Linked DNA regions of Homo sapiens: region 2 is linked to region 1. The links are contacts of gene promoters, found by promoter capture Hi-C in human tissues and cell types (Jung and others, 2019). All regions are on one chromosome and are shown on one strand. The core of a region is centred on a gene start or on the middle of the fragment in contact, and the rest is flanking DNA. Distances in the headings are between cores, read along the strand shown.

What was found. Contacts are between HindIII fragments. The study calls those that stand out against the background at their distance.
Region 2: a contact is called between a fragment that was not itself captured here and the fragment with the promoter of RASGRF2 in region 1, in 2 of the 25 tissues and cell types used here (H1 embryonic stem cells and adrenal gland).

What each region holds. Positions count from the first base shown.
Region 1 is chr5:80,958,085-80,962,057 of GRCh38, reverse strand. It overlaps RASGRF2 (Ras protein specific guanine nucleotide releasing factor 2), which reads right to left and starts at 1,695. Exons shown (of 27, transcript NM_006909.3): 1 at 1,032-1,695. The coding sequence starts at 1,319. RASGRF2-AS1 (RASGRF2 antisense RNA 1) reads left to right here and starts at 1,151. Exons shown (of 4, transcript NR_105015.1): 1 at 1,151-1,277. RefSeq lists an enhancer at 871-1,592. The HindIII fragment of the contact is 17,436 bases long and covers 1-3,973 here.
Region 2 is chr5:80,855,234-80,859,317 of GRCh38, reverse strand. The region is part of intron 21 of MSH3 (mutS homolog 3); the gene reads right to left. It also overlaps the pseudogene RPS26P27. Among named protein-coding and RNA genes, the nearest start is that of RASGRF2, 100 kb to the left of the region's middle. The HindIII fragment of the contact is 4,064 bases long and covers 1-4,060 here.

The DNA.
Region 1 (3,973 bases), core at 446-2,945:
ACAGCCTCTGTGGTGTGCGGTAGATGCTGTCTGATCTGAACTCACATGGAAAATTCAGCTGCGAATATTTTTACGCAACAGCAAAAACAATCAGCCTTTTTCATATCAAGGTGGGGATTGAGAAGCTAAATGAGAACATTAGGGGCATAAAATTAGTCTGCTTTAACTTTAATAACCAAACGGTGATTGGAAACATACAAACTTTGTGTTTGCAGGAATGAGGGGCTGGGATCACTAAGACTTAAAGGGTTTTTCTCCCCCACCCCGCGACCATGAGCACACAGCAAAACTAATAAAATTATGACCCAGAATTAAAAGGTCGCATTCATTTTCAAAGCATTCATTTAAAAGTACAGAAGCGTTCTTTAAAAATGCCCACATTTTTAAACATAGCAAGAATGTGGCTACCAAATATTAATCCTGAGGAATATGAATACACATTTACCTTCATAATTACACCCAGCAGGTCAAATGTTAGCAAGGCCAACTGACCGAAATCACAAAGACTGATTGAAAATGACCAACAGAAAGTGTCTGTCCGGCTTGGGAGCCCCGCTTGTTCCCAGCCCAACCAGTGGTCAAACATCTGCAGGCAAAGAAATCTACACGCGCCAGCCGGGTATGGCAGAAATCAAACTTTTCCAAATAAGTTAGTTCCGTCTTGCCAATCTACACCCAACAGGTGTCAATACATGTCACCAGACAAAAATCTGGCGAGCCAGGTCTAGAGAAGCAATAGATGGTTGGCAGAGAAGCTGAAACGACTCGACCTCTACCAGGGTAATGAAAGCAAGTCGGGCCACTATTCTGACTGATCACTTGGCAGTGGGGTGGAGGGGTATGGAGATGGGAGAATCCCTGGATGAAGATCGGAAGGAGCGTGGAGATGTCCCGCCACTGGTGACGCGGGGGGATTTCGGAGCATAGTCCCCGCACTCTTTCACGACCCCCGACCCCTGATCCCCGGATTAGGACGGCAAGGGAGTGCGGCGATCAAGGCTGGGAGACCGCGGAGAGAAGGCGCGCGGTACCTGCTTGTCCAGCGCGTCTCGGACGCCTCCCTGCCCGGCGCCGGCCCTGGGTGGCGCGGGCGTTCGTTCGCAGCTGCAGCCCTCCAGGAGGTACATGCCCGCCGGGCGGCAGCTCTGCTCGCCCTCGAAGTAGAAGAGCACATTCTGGTAGAGGGCGAACCACTTCTCGTGCCAGCGGCTCGCCTCGGCCGTCTTCTTACTCAGGAAGCCGCGCTTGGTGCCCTCCTTGCGCGCCAGAAAGGCCAGGTACAGGGCGTGCCCCTCGTTGTAGCGCACGCTCTTCTGCATGGTGCGGGTGCGGAGGGCTCACGGGTGGCCGCCGGTCTCACCCCTGCCTCGCGGCCATGGCCCAGCTGGCTCCCTCGAGGGCGCGACCGCTCAGGTCCCGGCCGGCGAAGGGCGCCCCCTTTCCCCACGCCGCGCGCAGGGCACCCCGCCCGCTTTCGGGAGGCCGCGGCGCGCGGTGGCAGGGGCGCGGGCTGGGGCCGAGGCACGCTCTCCGCCCTAACCACCACCCTCCCGGCCGAGCCCCCGGAGCCCCCCAAGCCCCCAACGCCCGCGTGGAGCGCGGCCCCGCGAGGGCGCCCGAGCCGGCCGCCGCTTCGCCCAAAGTTGCGGGAGCCGAGCCCCCGCGGCGGGCTGGGGCGGCAGCCGGGGAAGGACTGTCCTCGGGCAACGCGCTCCGGGAGACAGAAGGTAAAACGTCACGTGGGAGCTCAGCTGTAATCGGCTTGGAGACCGATTTAAAGGGCAAAGTCGGCGCGGCGCCGGCGGTGGCGCAGCCCGCTTGCCCCGGCTCGCGTCCCTCCCTCGCCCGCCCCGGCCCGGGCCGCTGCCTCTGCTCGGGCGCCCGCCGGGATGGGGCGGATCAGGGAGGTGGAGGCGCCCGGCCGCACCACACACCCGCTCACACGCGCTCGCACACTCGCGCACAACGCGCGCACACACACACGCACACCCACACACACGCAGACCAGTACATTCACCCAGATCCACAATGCACACACTCAGACGCACAAAAATACACTCACAAATGCACACAAACACAATGCGCGCACATATGCACAAAAACACACGCGCACACACTCATGACACACAAATACACATTCTCACAACGCTCACACTCAACACACAGTCACAACGCACAAATGCATATAGACAAATACACCCACAATGTGCGTTCCCGCGCACAAAAATAAAACCCACATTCAGATACACACTTAAGGAGCTACACACATGCACGCAGTGATATGCTCACTTACACACACATTCACACACAACCCACACATTCACTCAAACCCACATTCAAACATACATTCATACACACATTACACTCATACAGTCACACAAACAGCACACATATACTCACACGTTCACAATCATACAGACTCATAAGCAGATAATCAAACACACACACAGATGAACACACATGTACATTCACAAATTCATCCAAAAATACACACAAAGCACTCACACACGTATTCGCACGAATCCACACACTTTCACAAACCCACTCACACATACACACACACTCACATGCCACATCCATAAGTACGTTCCCATGGCAGTAGGTAGAGTCACAGAGTGGCTTTGCATAGCCCGCATCCTTGGCTTTTCTGCTTGTACCTGCATTGTAGTATTTAAAACTGCCGGTAAAGGTTAAGGAGAGTGGCCCAAGTGTTCCCGGAAAGGCATCAGATGCCGAAGTTCTTTCGGAATGCCTGTTATTTCACAGTGGTAAGATGCTAAATTTTAAGTGCCGAGTTTTCAACCTGGAAAAAAATACCCAAATAAGGGACACTTTGCTGCCCAGGGCAGAATCCAACCCCAAAGGCCAGCTGTCACAGGCTCATCGTTTGTAGGACTGGATTCATTTGATTAACAAATCTGACAGGTACAACCAGAAAACCAAGAGCCACCCCCCCGCCCCAACCCCATGCTGTAAAAATGTAAGTGGAAAAGAAATAATGTAGCCAGCAGCTGTGAGAGAAAGCCAGTGAAACCCCCGGGGAGGGCCTATATTTGATTCTGCTATACACATTTTTTATTTTCCCCAGTCATTTATCACTAAAACGGAGTGCCATCATAAAATGTTTATTGTTAAAAGTAAATAATAATGCTTTTCTGGGTGATGAGTCTACGACAATACACCTGTCTTGTACTGCCAGTTGTGTGTTCATGAATTGGTAGCCCCAGGGGTTCTGCCTGTTTCATAAGTGCTGTTTCTGCAGAATATTTTAACTCTGCCTCACTGAGCAGCTGAGTGGGGTTTTTTTTTCCTTTTACCTTTTTAAAAAATTTTCACTTTTAACAAGTATATAGTAGGGAAATTGCCATTTTGAAATTACAGCGTGAGAACAGTGGTCATTTCTCTTTACGTTTTTAAAAATATCTAAAGGACAGTGCTGTGCTAAATTGGGTTTAACCCAGCTGGAAGTTTGCATTGTTCTTCAGAGAAGACACAAGTACAGAGACAGTAAGTAAATGCAGGCAACATTTTGGAGCCAGATTCTAGATGCAGAGGAGCTGGTGATTGCCTCAGGAGGCCTTTTATTTCTTTCTCTGTGGTCCAATCCCAGCTGTGAGAACCGTAAGTGAGTAGACACCTGTGTGGTTGATAAGCTCCATTTTTTTAGTAGAAACCAGTAAGAGTGTGAAATCAGCACAAAAACTATTTTGCCATGAGTAGTCAAACCTTCTAACGCACTTGAGTTTTTTCAGATGTGAAAGATTCTCTTCTTCAATAAGCAATGTCTCAGTTACCATCTCTGTCTCCTTAAATGTGCTTTTCATTTGAACCACATGAAATATTCACAACCTCTTGTCTGACATCACTTCCTACCACGGAAGGTTATGTGGCCCTTATATGCCACCCCATCTGCTCTGCCCCTGGACAATGAGAGAAAGGAGTGCTTGTTTCCTGCAAAATTTGGCTGGTGATT
Region 2 (4,084 bases), core at 779-3,278, 100 kb after region 1:
CCCATCTTTAATTTAAAAAGAATACAAAAATTAGCCAGGCGTGGTGGCACACACTTGTAATCCCAGCTACTCGGGAGGCTGAGGCACAAGAATCACTTGAATCTGGGAGGCAGAGGTTGCAGTGAGCTGAGATTGTACCACTGCACTCCAGCCTGGGTGACAGAGTGAGACTCTATCTAAAATATATATATATATATGGAGGAAGATACATCATGTTAACATTAAAGAAAGCTGAAGCAGCTATATTAATTTCTAAAGGAAGTTAGAGTAGCTATATTAATTTGAGACAGAGCAGACTTCAGATCAAGTAAATTTGTCAGGGATAAAGAAGGATATTATATAATGATAAAGGGATAATGATAAAATGATAAAGGATATTATGTCTTATGTCCAAGAAGACATAATATCCTTAACATGTATGCATTTAACAAGAGAATGTCAAACTACATGAGGCAAAAGCTGATAGAACTACAAAGAGAAACAGATGAACATACTACTATAGTTAGAGATATCAAAATTCCTCCATCTGAAACAGACAGATCCAGCAGGCAGAAAATCAGTAAGGACACAGCTGAACTCAACAACACCATCAATCAACTAGACATCATTTATATCTATAGATACTTCAACCAACAGCTGAATACACATTCATCTCAAGCTAACATGGAACATTCACCAAGAAAGACCACATTTTGGGCCATAAAACACATGTTGACAAATTTAATATAATAAAAATCATACAATATTTGATCTCATACCACAATGGAATTAAACTAGGAATCATAACAAAAAGGTAACTGGAAAATCCCCAAATACATGGAGACTAAACAACACATTCTTAAAAAACATATGGGTCAAAAAAGAAATAAAGAGAAATTTAAAATATTTGGAACTAAGTAAAAACAGGAAGCACACCTTATCAAAATTTGTGGAACCGCACCAAAAGCAGTGCATAGAAGAAAATTTATAGGCCAGGAGCGGTGGCTCACACCTGTAATCCCAGCACTTTGGGAGGCCAAGGCAAGAGGATCACTGGAGTCCAAGAATACGAGACCAGCCTGGGCAACATAGTGAGACCCCAATCTCTATAAAAAATAAAAGTGAAATTAGCTGGGTGTTGTGGCATGTGCCTGTAGTCCCAGCTACATGGGAGGCTGAGGCAGAAGGATCACTTGAGCCCAGGGAGTCGAGGTTGCAGTGGGCTATGTTCATGCCACTGCAGTCCAGCCTGGGTAACAGAGCAAGACCCTGTCTCAAAAAAGAAAAAATGGAAAGAAAAGAAAGAATAAAAAAAGAAAATTTATAGCACTGAACACATTAGAAAAAAAGAACAATTTAAAATAAACAATCTAAGCTTCTATCTTAGGACACCAGAAAGAGAAGAGCAAAAATAAGCAAAAGAAAAGAGATAATAAAAATTAGAGCAGAAATCAATGAAATTAAAACAAGAAAGCAATGGGGAAAATAATCAATAGAACCAAAAGCTGGTTCTTTGAAAAGAAAACTGATAAGCTTCTAGTCAAGCTAACTAAGAACAAAAGAGAAAAGACACAAATGGCTAATATCAGAAATGAAAAGGACAACACTACGGATGCCGTGGACAAATAAAAGGATAATAAAGGAATACTATGACCAACTCTATGTCCACAAATCTGGTAACCTTGGTGAAAATTTCTTGAAAAACAATTCCTTAAAAGACACAATGAGCCAAAACTCACACAAGAAAAAAAACAGAAATTCTGAATAGGTCTATATCTATTGAAGAACTTGAGTCAATGGCCTTCTAAAACCAAAATCATAGGCCCAGATGGCTTCACTGGTGAACTCCACCAAATGTTTAAGGAAGATATTTTACCAATTCTCTATAGTCTTTTTCAGAGGACAGGAGTGGAGTAAATACTTTCTAACTCATTCTATGAGGCCAGCATTACCTTAATACTAAAACCAAAGACATTATAAGAAAACTATAAACCAGTATCTCTCATAAACATAGATGCAAAAATCCTCAATAAAATATTAGCAAAATGAATCCAACAATGTATAAAAAGAAAAACAGACCATAACCAAGTAGGACTCATCCCAAGTGTGTAAGACTCATTCAACATTTGAACACCAGTTAACGTAATCCATCACATCAACAGGCTAAAGAAGAAAAATCACATGACCATATCAATAGATGCACAGAAAGCATTTGACAAAATCTAACACCCATTCAATAAAAACTCTCAGTAAACTAGGAATAGAGGAGAACTTCCTCAATTTGGTAAGGAATATCCACAAACAACCTCTAGCTAACATCATACTTAACGGTGAGAAACTCAAAGCTTTCCCACTAAGATCAGAAACAAGGCAACGATATCCTTTCTTACTGCTTTTTCAACACTGTACTGAAAGTCCTAGTTACTGCAATAAGACAAGAAAAAAAAAATAGATGGGGAAGAAAGAAGTGAAACTGTCTGTTTGTATCTGACATGACTGCCTATGTAGGAAATTCAAAAGAATTGGCAAACATACACACAGACTGGAATTAGTAAGTGATTACAGCAAGGTTGCAGGATCCAAGGTTAATGTACAAAAGTCAATTGCTTTCCTATGTAGTTTCTTTTTTTTATTATTATTATACTTTAAGTTTTAGGGTACATGTGCACAATGTGCAGGTCAGTTACATTTGTATACATGTGCCATGTTGGTGTGTTGCACCCATTAACTCGTCATTTAACATTAGGTATATCTCCTAATGCTATCCCTCCCCCCTCCCCCCACCCCACAACAGGCCCCAGTTTGTGATGTTCCCCTTCCTGTGCCCATGTGTTCTCATTGTTCAACTCCCACCTATGAGTGAGAACATGCGGTGTTTGGTTTTTTGTCCTTGCGATAGTTTGCTGAGAATGATCGTTTCCAGCTTCATCCATGTCCCTATAAAGGACATGAACTCATCATTTCCTACGTAGTTTCTATAATGATTAAAGTTTCTGAGTTACATCTTTTTGCAAATAAATTTTTTAAAGCAAAACAAAAAATTCCTTAAAAAAAACAAAATGTTATAATTACCTATGTAATCTAAATAAATGTTTAAACAAAACCTGAGTCACTCTTGGGTCTTCACTGCCAAAATAACAAAGAAAAGAAGGGAGGCTGGGCATGGTAACTCATGCCTATAATCCCAGAACTTTGGGAAGCCAAGGCAGGTGGATCACTGGAGCCTGAAAGTTCAAGACTAGCCTGAGCAACACGGTGAAACTCCATTCCTAAAAGAATACAAAAATTAGCTGGGTATGGTTGGTGTGTGCCTGTAGTCCCAGCTACTCGGGAGGCCGAAGTGGAAGGATCACCTGGGCCCAGGTAGGTCGAGGCTGCAGTGAGCCATGATCATGCCACTGCACTGCAGCCTGAGTGACAGAGTGAACCCATTTCAAAAAAGAAAAAAAAAAAAAAAAAAAAAAAGAGGAGGAGGAGGAAGAGAAAGAAGAGGAGGAGGAGGAACAACAACAACGGTTGTGCCAAAAAGGGCCATAGCTAGGTACAACCTATTTGCTGCACAAACTGTGTTGGATGCACACCTAAGGACAAGGCTATTTAGAAGTTTGTCATTTGAAATATAGTAGAAGGTACAGCTGTCAGGGACATTTCCAAATTGAGTGTCGTTGATGTCTCTGTGCTTCCCAAACAGTGTATGAAACTGTATTACTGCACAAGTTCTGCCGCTCACAGCAAGGTAGTCAGGAATCATTCTCATGAAGCCTAGAGGACCAAACAACTCTGCTCCAATTTAGATCTGAGGATGCTGCCCCATGATCTCCATCAAAGCCTGTTCATGGAGCTGAGTCTCTAAAGACTGAAGAAAAACTATCTTCTGGAAAAAAATTAAATGGAAATTAAGCTTTAAAAACAAAACTAAACCCCAAAACACCAATGGCAACAAAAGGTTAAAGAAAAATACATTTTATTTTTGTGTTGCTTTTTGAAAAGAAATATTAAAAATATGATTTTATTGGCTATTTAAGGAAGAGAGAAAGAAATGAAAATGAGGGAAGACACAATGACAAAGGAGCAAGAAAATGGGGGGGAAAACAGAAAGAAAGAC